2 separate regions of the Homo sapiens genome follow, and region 1 is linked to region 2. The links are contacts of gene promoters, found by promoter capture Hi-C in blood cells and fetal thymus (Javierre and others, 2016). All regions are on one chromosome and are shown on one strand. Each heading gives the region's core, a stretch centred on a gene start or on the middle of the fragment in contact. The rest is flanking DNA. Distances are from core to core; before and after follow the strand shown. Region 1 has its middle 5.4 kb from the start of GOLGA4. Region 2 holds the start of TRANK1 (tetratricopeptide repeat and ankyrin repeat containing 1).

Region 1 (5,405 bases), core at 2,107-4,606, 290 kb before region 2:
AGTTATAGACCAACTGTCATTCTTCCACCCCTTCCAATTGCACAAAATGCAAATACTATCTCCATGTTTCAGAAAATTTTCAGAATAACATAATTGCTAGGGGTTCAGATTGCTTTCCAAGCCTTAGATTTAACAAAATAGCATGTCAGAAAATGCTTCTAGTCAAGAACCAATACACATCTGAAACCTTCAACTGATTTCCTACTTTCTGACCAGAAACGTATCATCAGTCCTTTTGCGTCACCACACAATGCATTTTCTTAACCCTTATCAAGAATCCTTGTACCTGCCAACCACAACAGTATAGTATAATGGTTAAGAGCACAGTCTTTGGTTTACACAAAAGTCATCAATTTTTAGGCAGGGTGCGGTGGTTCATGCCTGTAATCCCAACCCTTTGGGAGGCCGAGGCGGGTGGATCACCTGAGGTCAGGAGTTCAAGACCAGCCTGGCCAACATGGCAAAACCCCGTCTCTACTAAAAATACAAAAAAAATTAACAAGGCATGGTGGCAGATGCCTGTAATCCCAGCTACTCAGGAGGCTGAGGCAGGAGAATCGCTTGGACCTGGGAGGCAGAGGTGGCAGTGAGCTGAGATCGTGCCACTGCACTCCAGCCTGGGCAACAAGAGCGAAACTCTGTCTCAAAAAATAAAAAATAAAAAAAGTCATCCATTTTCTAGTTCTTTAACCTTTGGCACTTAAGCAAACCACAGTATACAAAATCAAATGCCTAAAGGGAACAAGAGGTTATGAGTAAAGCACATATACATAGGATTTAAGACAATGGAAAATGTAGGAAGGTAACAAATGACAGTGTGAACACATCTAGAGGCATTTTTAAATCAACGCAACAAAACAACTCTTAGAATAAAATTCAGCCCAAAGGCCAGATTGTGACCTCTGAGTCTTAGCTCTCTGCATTTCATTTTCCTCATCTTTAATAATTTAATACTATTTCATAGGATTGTTGTGAAGTTCAAATGAGATGATATGCGTAAAGCGTACAATTCACAGTAAATGAAACTTATCAATTCTAAGAGTTTAATTCTCACTCATAACGCTCTCCCTCTGTATGTTGAGAACTCCAGCCTACACCTTTCCCCTGAGCTCTAGATCAAGCTTGTCCAACCCACGGCCCCATAGGCTGCATGTGGCACAGGATGGCTTTGAATGTGGCCCAATACAAATTCATAAACTTTCTGAAAACATTATGAGATTTTTTTGTGATTTTTTTGGGGGGGGCTATCAGCTATTGTTAGTGTATTTTATGTGTGGCCCAAGCCAATTCTTCCAGTGTGGTCCAGGGAAGCAAAAAGATTAGACACCCCTGCTCTAGACTATAGCATCTCCACTGGGCTCTCAGGTTGAGCAGGGCCAAGAACTATGTCTGTCATGCATCCCAGTCAGTGCTAGTACAGGGCCTGACACTACATTTCTACAGAGTTAGTATTTTTTGTTTTTTTTTTTAAACAGAGTCTTACTCTGTTGCCCAGGCTGGAGTGCAGTGACGCGATCTCGGCTCACTGCAACCTCCGCCACCTGGGTTCAAGCAATTCTCCTGCCTCAGCCTCATGAGTAGCTGGGACTACAGGCCTGTGCCACCAAGCCAACTAATTTTTGTATTTTTAGTAAAGACGGGATTTCACCACGTTGGCCAGACTGGTCTCAAACTTCTGACCTCAAGTGATTCGTCCACCTCCGCCTCCCAAATTGCTGGGATTACAGGAGTGAGCCACTATGCCAGGGTTTTGTTTTTTTAAATACACTACCAATGGGGGAAAAAAAAACAATTAATCTTAATACATCCACTTGCCTTAATGGCCAACTGGGCAACTTCCCTTAATGGCCCTCCTTAATGGCCCACAGGCATCTCACCTTCAACATCTCCAAAAACAAAATCATCTGCTACTACCCCTCTACCATCACCATCAGGCTTGTCCCTTCTGTGTTTCCTCTTACCCTCTTGCTGCTTCTCCTTTTCATAAGCTTGTTTTTTCATCTATATTTTCTACCTTGGCTGGTGTAATCTCCATCTTCCCAGTTACCAAAGCCAAAAGTTTGGAAGTCAATCAAGACATCTCTCTCTATACATCACCCATATCCAGAGAATCACTAAGTCTTGTGTATTTTCCTCTGAAATACTTCTGAAATCCATCTGCTTTCCTAATTTACCCCGCCACTAGTTTCAGTCTTCATTATAGCTTATCATTTAAATGGCCCCCCAGTTTCCAGTTTTGCTTCTTTCCAATCCATCTTCCACATAGCTGATGTTACTCTCCTGCTGCAACCCCATCAGTGGTCACCTTGTCCTACATAACAGTGTTCGTGCTACCAGGCAGTACAAGAAGCCCTCAGCAGCCTGGCTCCTGCTTTCCCTCTTACTAAACCCTGGCCACTCTTCACACTTCAAAGTTCCAGAAATGTCAAATTAACTCAGGGTTCCCTTGGCACATTCTGCTTTTTCTTTTTTTAAGAGAGAGAGAGAGAGACAGGGTCTCACTGTGTTGCCCAGGCTAGTCTCCAACACCTGGGCTCAGGTGTTCCACATGCCTCAGCCTCCCTGATGTTCTGAGATTACAGGTGTGAGCCGCCACACCTAGCCACATCCTGCTTTTATTTTATTTTATTTTTTTTTGAGATGGTGTCTCAGTCTGTCACTCAGGCCAGAGTGCAGTGACATGATCTCGGCTCACTGCAACCTCTACTTCCTGGATTCAGGCGATTCTCCTGCCTCAGCCTCCCTAGTAGCTGGGATTATAGGCATATGCCACTACGCCCCGCTAATTTTTGTATTTTCAGTAGAGACGGTTTTGCCATGTTGGCCAGGCTGGTCTCGAACTCCTGACCTCAGGTGATCCGCCTGCCTCAGCCTCCCAAAGTGCTGGGATTACAGGCGTGAGCCACCACACCTGGCCCACAACCTGCTTTTATATACGTGCTTGCCTTTCTTTTTTTTGGTCTACAAATTATATAGAGCAGTTGTGAAAATCATGAGTACGGCAGTGTACTCATTGTCCTCCTTGACTGTACCTTTCTTCCTTTTCCACTTTGCCTCTCTACCCTGGACAATGCTGTGCTCATATTTCATAATCTCTTTCAAGCATTCTCTAATACCACTCCCCAAACCACCCCCGACACACACATATCAGTGGAGTTAATCATGCTCTCCTCTATACAGCCTCAGTCTTACATGCTGTTAATGTATGTATCACACTGAATTTTTATCTTCTTTTGTTACAAAAGTAATATGCTCACTGTAACAAATGTAATCTGGTTCCTGCAAATAACCTCTATTAGTAATTCATTTTTCGTTTTTTTAATTTTTCTGTATTTATAAAATATATACATTTAATTATCTATACATAAAATATATGAAATATATACATTTAATTATACATAAATATATTTAGTTTTGTTTTATGAAAAATTGATTATACAAAATCCATATCTTGCTTTCTTCAATTAATATGCCATGAATATCATTTCTAATCAGTATATGTATTTCAATCCCTTTAATGGCTGCATAGTATTTTATACTATGTATGAATTATAATTTAAGATTTCTAATTGGTAGGCATTTAGCTTCTCTCCTGTTTTTTGCTAATAAAAAACTATTAAAGTGAGCAACTTTATAAATAAATGTTTGTATACTAGTGTGTATGTTTCTGTAGAAAATAATGGATTTCTGGCCGGGAGTGGTGGCTCACGTCTGTAATCCTAGCACTTTGGGAGGCCAAGGCAGGTGGATCACGAGGTCAGGAGATTGAGACCCTCCTGGCCAACGTGGTGAAACCCCGTCTGTACTAAAAATACAAAAATTAACCTGGCATGGTGGTGCGCCCCTGTAGTCCCAGCTACTCGGGAGGCTGAGGCTGGAGAATCACCTGAACCAGGGAGTCCAAGGTTTCAGTGAGCCGAGATGGTGCCACTGCACTCCAGCCTGGCGACAGAGCGAGACTCCGTCTCAAAAAAAAAAAAAAAAGAAAAAAGAAAAAAGAAAATAATGGATTTCTAGAAGTATAATTGAGAGTTCCATCCAATGAGCATGATTAATGCCAACTTGATCTCCAAAATGTATAGCAATTTATATTTCTACTGATAGTGTGGGAAATGCCCTTATGAATATGTTTTTAATTTTTTGTCAGTCAAAAAGATGGTGAATCGTATTTTACTTTTGTTGTAGTTTCCATTTATTTAATTATAAGCAATGTTAAAACGTCATCTTAAGTGTGTATGTTATCATAGTTCTTTCACATTGTATTACACAATTCATGTAACCCAGATATTTGCTCTTCCTTTTCCCCTAAGGGACAATTCCCTCTAAGTATATTTAGGGAAGTAAAATAGTCCTTCATCTTCCAAGTTATGTGTTCTTCTCACTGTCTCTTTACTTTTGCTAAATCACCTCTCTGCTATGGGACACTTCTCCATTTGTTACTGGTCTCAGCCTGGACAGCATGACTGCAGTTCCCTGGGGATCTTGATGCTTATGCTTCCAAGGGGTTTTACGGGATGGGAGTTGGGGGAGAGGGGGGAATGAGTTGAATTTAGGGTAGGTGTCACATATTTTATGACCCCAGCTCTTACTTCCTTTCATTACAGTTCTACTCAAGATATGGAGGTGGGAGAAGAGAGACTTTTGTTGTAACAAGTAACAAAGATGTAGAAATTGAAATATTTGTATTACTATATTGTTTTAATATACTTCATTAGAAAGCTTCGAAATGTTATGTTGTTAATATTTACTTTTACAGGAGAATATTGTAAGGCTATGTAAATTTTAATTATAAAACAGTTGGAAAACCTCTCATGGAAGAAAGTTCTACACATCAGAGTCTAAACTTAGACTCTCTGGAATTTAGCCAACTTTTCAGCCTGGTATAACTTATCTTTAGAGGGTTTTTAAAAATGTTTGTTGTTACAGGCTCACGCCTGTAATCCTAGCACTTTGGGAGGCTGAGGTGGGCAGATCATGAGGTCAGAAGTTCAAGACCATCCTGACCAACATGGTGAAACCCCATCTCTACTGAAAATATAAAACTTAGCCGGGCGTGGTGTCACATGCCTGTAATCCCAGCTACTTGGGAGGCTGGGGCAGGGGAATTGCTTGAACCTGGGACACAGAGGTTGCAGTGAGTTGAGATCGCACCACTGCTCTCCAGCCTGGGTGACAGAGCAAGACTCCGTCTCAAAAAAAAATTTTTTTTTAATTTAAAATTTAAAAATTTAAACAAATGTTTGTTGTTAATTTAATGCCCATTACTGGCATAAAGTAAATAAACTATGGAAAAGTGAAGAGCTACTTCTTACTCTTATTGGCTCTGTTTGACAAATAGACACAAAGAACCAAAAAATGACTTGTCCATAGTAATATGATCTCAGTGATAGAACTAGAAAGTGACT
Region 2 (5,119 bases), core at 962-3,461:
GGTCAAAGTGTAAACGGACTTTTTGGTTTTTTTAAATCCTCCTCTCTTCACCAATCCCTTGGCTTGCTCTCTTTGATGTAAGAACCTGGCTAGGCTTTCTGGAAGTAGACTCCTTGAAGTTGGCAAAAATAACAACAACAACAACAACAAAACAAAATAACCCCCCAAAACAAAAAGAAAAACAAAAAACCCCAAAACCAAAAATATCTCCGAAACCAAAAAATACCCCGCAACCAAAAAACCCCAAACCAAAACCAAACCAAACCAAAACCCAAACTGAACAAACCCAAAAATCACCAACAGAAAGAGGTATGCTAGAAGAGGTGGCATGTGCTTTCCTAAATATAGAATTGGGGGATGTTGGGAAAAGTATTGGAGGAAGGATATGGAAAGTATCCTAAAAGTGAAAGGACCAATGATGTCTGGGAAATAGCAAGTAGTCCAACTATTTGGTGGCTAGCAGTGATTCTCAAACTTTGCAGCATGTTATAGTCTTTTAAAAATCCTGATGTGGCTGGGTGTGGTGGCTTGCACCTATAATTCCAGCACTTGGGGAAGCCTAAGTGGGTGGATCACTTGAGGTCATGGGTTTGAGACCAGCCTGTCTAACATGGTGAAACCCCGCCTCTACTAAAAATCTAAAAAATTCAGCCGGGCAAGGCGGCGGGCACCTGTAATCCCAGTTACTCAGGAGGCTGAGGCAGGAGAATCACCTGAACAACAGAGTGAGACTGTCTCAAAACAAAAACAAAAACAAAAATTCCTGACGCCCATGTCAATTAGACAATTTGGGAGTAAAAGCCAAACATACGCATATTTTTGGGTTTTTTTTTTTTTTTTTGTATTTTTAGTAGAGATGGGGTTTCTCCATGTTGGTCTGGCTGGTCTCAAACTCCCGACCTCAGGTGATCCGCCTGCCTCAGGCTTCCAAAGTGCTGGGATTACGGGTGTGAGCCACCCGCCCGGCCTTGTTTTTGTTTTTAAGCTCCCCAGGTGATTCTATTGTGTAACTAAGGTTGGGAAGCACTGCAGTATAGAGTTTGCATGAGGAAGCTAAGATTGGAAATGTGGGGCAAGATTGTGAAGAAGAATCTCAAATGCCCGGGTACCTAACCTGATCTCTAGGAGACAATGGAGTGCCACTGATGGCTTTTGAACTGTACGTGATTCATCCTGATGTTTGGGGAAGATCAATGCACAGAAATCTCTGTGAGATTCTAGAAGCAAGGAGACCACTAGCTAGACTGAGACTAGTTCACAACGCAGAATGACCAGTGGAGAGAAGTATACTGTGTGCCTTAGGTGTGTCCACGTGTTACCAAAGCCTCTCTGTTTCGCTGAAATGTGTGGTCCCCCTCACTAAAGCTCTGGTGGTGTCCTCCCTGCCACCAGGCAGCCTGGTGTGGTGGTCCCCCAGAAGGATGGGCGAACCACCGGGATGCAGTGTAGGCCGAACCTTGCCCCAGGGGAGGGCGGCGGGCTTAGCTCTCTGATTGGGTGGATTCTCTGGTGTGTAGGAAAGTACTCCCAGGCCCAGAGAAGCTGTGAAGACCAAACCGGCTCCCTAGGCCGAGAACCGCTGGGGAGGTAGCAGCCAGAGGTGGTCCTCTCCGACCCACTACTCTGTCGATCATCACTGGGGAGGTGGAAAGACAAGGCAAGATCCTCATTTTGTTGCCTGCTCAGGCCTGTGCGCACTTACTCTCCATGGACACGACGGTGAGCGTGGAGCAGCCCGCGGTCTCGCTGCCCCCTTCACTCCCGGACCCCCAGCCTCCCCAGAGTGGAGGGGCAAGCACACAGTAAGTACTTGATATTCGCCCGACTCCTGAGCTCCTCATCTGTAGGAGCTAGGGGGCTTGTTCTCCGTACGTCCTTTGTTGGAGGGAGGAACGAGGGAAGGAGAAAACCCACGCTGAGGCCGTTGGCCGATCACTTTCTTTACCTCCCGGACAACATTGATGGGCCCCACTAAGGAAAGCCGAATTCTCGCATGCCCGAGGAGTGTCGGAGGTGGTTGTGCGCCTAGTCCCTCCTGGTAAAGGGTTCGAAGCACTCGTTTATTCAAAGGCGGCCGAGAGCCATACCATTTGCTTGCATGACGGGAGACACCGAAACGCCCCTTTTGAACGCGATGACAAACACCTCCTCCCACTCAGCAGCGACGTGCACGTGACAGTTTTTGGGCTCTCGCAACTACGTGGAAACTTGGAATAGGTCTGCGGCTGCACACCGCCCGGACGCCGGGGTTCCTGCGTCCCCCGCCCCCTCTGATCGCGGCTGGGTAGCCGAGCCGCAGGCAGCTGGGGGCCCCCGAACGCCGCCTCTGCATCGCGCCGCCCCTGCCCCGGGCTCCGGTAGCTTTCGGGCTTCCGCACTGCCCGCCGCGCCCTGCCCACAGGGAAGCGCTTCCCCAGGCGGCGGCGGTCCTGGTGCGGACCCTCCGGCCGCAGCCATGTGGGACCCGCGGGCAGCTAGGTGCGTAGCGGCGCGGGAAGCACTGGGGCATCTCTGGCCTTCCGGGCCCGCCACCCTTCCTGGCGGGAGGCGGCCGCGCGCGGGGACTGGCGACCCTGAGGTAGCGGCCGAACGGGCCCGCCCGGCCATCCCTGTGGGGCCCACAGCCATCTAGGTGCAGACCCGAGCCAGTTGCGCGGGGTCGGTCGCGGGGGACGGCTTCGGCCTTTTCGGTCCGGAGGGACCAGGGCACGCGCTGCGACAGGACTGCGGCGGCGCGCGGCCTGCCTAGCTCCCACCCCGGCATCGAAGCCGCAGCTCTCGGGCCCACCTCCGCATCCTCAGGGGTTCCCGGGGGCTGCCGACAGGTTCCTGACCAGCGAGCGCGCCCCCGGGGCAAGCATTCTTGGCGGGCAGAAACCTGGGAGCGGAGCACAGCGGTGCAAGGGAACCGTGCCAGGCGGGAAGGGCGGAATTTGCGGGGAACTTGGAGCGCGCTGGCCTCTTCCCGGCAGTAGGAGGCCTTCTTCCCTGCCCGCCCGATTGAGGGCTGCTGGGCTGGCTCAAACTGGACTGCACGGTCCATCAGCCTGGGCTCACCGAGTCTAGGGGGAAGGTAGTAGTAGGGACCCAAGGCTGGGAAGCGGAGCCCTTAGAAGCCCTTGCTTCTGCCTCGGAGCGTTTCCGAACCGGAGCTCGGAGTCTGTTGCCTGGGAGGCGCGTTGCGTTTCCTCCCAACTCCCTGTCTCCGTCCCGCGGGGAGCCCTGTGCACTTGCAACCCGGCTGAGATAGAGCCCATCTTTGAGGTGCAGCTCAAGCCACCTTTTCTCCCAGATCGGGGTGTTTCTGGGCAGTTGAAAGCTTTGGTGCTTCCTAGGAAAATTTTTATGGAAGTGTGCAATTTGGAAAATAAAAGAAAAAAAAATTTAAGAAGCAGAAAGAGAATGGGGCTCTGAGGTCTCTAGTTCCCCTATCTGCTCCAACCCAGTTGCTGCTGGCTCAGTTAGTCCTTATGCGGGAAGGAATAGCTGGGATTAAAGCCTTGTGTTCCCAGCGTAGGTATGCGCTCCTGCTCCCTCGTGCTGAGCGTTTTGGGTTCCAGGATCCTTTTTGATATAAGGCTGTTATCCGGATGGCATCCTGTTTGGTCCTTTATAGAAAAAAAAAAAAAGTACTACGGTGTGTGTGTGTTGGAGGGCGGGGACGGTGGTCAGGAGTTTGTTTCAACTGTTTTCCAGGCAGGTCTGTTTTGTAGGATTGCAGGATAGGTGCTTGAGTTCATATGCTCTTTGTTGGCTTTTGCATCCTCTGCGGGGGGTGGGGGGGTGGGTAGAGGTGGGATAGGTGTGTGTGGCATTCACTCCCAGAGTCGCATCCCACTGCCACTGGCCTATGTATGGGTTTCTAGGTCTTTTTTCGATCAAGACCCACACCCACCCACCTATATGTATATAATGTATATATGCATAATATGTGTGTAATATTATATATACATATATACGCACACACACATACACATGTAAAATTGCAGCAAGAGCTTCATGGTATAGTTATTCTTTCTACAGGGTGAGGCACAATGATATTTTCCATTCTATTCCCTCCCCCCACCCCCCACCAGAGGGATTCTCGCTCTGTCACCCAGGCTGGAGTGCAATGAGGCGATCTCGGCTCACTGCAGCCTCCGCCTCCTGGGTTCAAGCGATTCTCCTGCCGCAGCCTCCGAAATAGCTGGGATTACGGGGGGCCGGGGGTGGGGCGCCACCAAGCCTGACTAATTTTTGTATTTTTAGTGGAGACGGTGTTTCGCCATGTTGGCCATGCTGGTCTCAAACTCCTGATCTCAAGTGATCCACCCGCTTCTGCCTGCCAGAGTGCTGGGATTACACGCCAGAGCCACCACGCCGGCCCATTCTATGTTTTTTTTTTTTTTTTAAAGCGGGTCATAAATTGTTAACTTCACTTTATGACCGACTGACCAGCTTTATGGGGCAACTGCAGGTTCTGTTTCCGCCGCTCTCCCAGAGTATGAGGAGACCGTCAGCATTTCACAGGGGAGTTGACTTTGGAAGTGAGGACTTGGTGTAGGAGTGATGAAGTAGACTGAAATTCATACTTGAGTGATAGAATACTGTAGGACATGGCTGTGTGGTTCAAGCCAGTACCATCTACAAAGACAGACCGCAGATGCTTCTGGTTACTTTGGTTCTGGCTATGTGTCCACAGAGAGCTGGCCTCCTGCATGGATCCCAGTGGGGCCTGGTGTAAATGCTAGGGAGGTAGGGGCATAATAGCTCCTGTTCTTTTTTTTTTTTTTTTTTTTTTTTGAGGAAGAAGAAGGGAAGATGCTGCAACCCTACTGCAGCCTTGGATTCATAGTTTTCTAAAAGGATTCTTTGGGTCTTGTCTCAGAATTTCACAGCTGCAATCAAGAGCTGGACCACGATCATTTTATAGATGAAGAAATTAAGGCCCAGAAAGGCCATCACTTGTTAGTCATTACCAACGAGTTAGTGTTAGATCTGGGATTAGACAACTTATCTCTTGACTTCCCAGTCCATGGCTCTCAGGAACCAAATAGAGACTGGCCTTGTGGAAATATTAAACTTCTATTTGCTGGTTGCTTCTGTTTTCCTGAAGTTACTACCAAAGACCCATTTCTAT

The links. The method cuts DNA at HindIII sites, captures the fragments that hold promoters and counts their contacts. A CHiCAGO score of 5 or more calls a contact.
Region 1: a fragment that was not itself captured here is called in contact with the fragment with the promoter of TRANK1 in region 2 in 5 of 17 cell types (neutrophils, total CD8 T cells, erythroblasts and 2 more); the score reaches 8.0 in neutrophils.

What each region holds. Positions count from the first base shown.
Region 1 is chr3:37,235,173-37,240,577 of GRCh38, reverse strand. No RefSeq gene overlaps it. Among named protein-coding and RNA genes, the nearest start is that of GOLGA4, 5.4 kb to the left of the region's middle. The HindIII fragment of the contact is 2,731 bases long and covers 1,991-4,721 here.
Region 2 is chr3:36,942,146-36,947,264 of GRCh38, reverse strand. It overlaps TRANK1 (tetratricopeptide repeat and ankyrin repeat containing 1), which reads left to right and starts at 2,211. Exons shown (of 24, transcript NM_001329998.2): 1 at 2,211-2,478. The coding sequence starts at 2,456. RefSeq lists an enhancer at 2,044-2,113 and a silencer at 2,344-2,563. The HindIII fragment of the contact is 7,723 bases long and covers 1-3,321 here.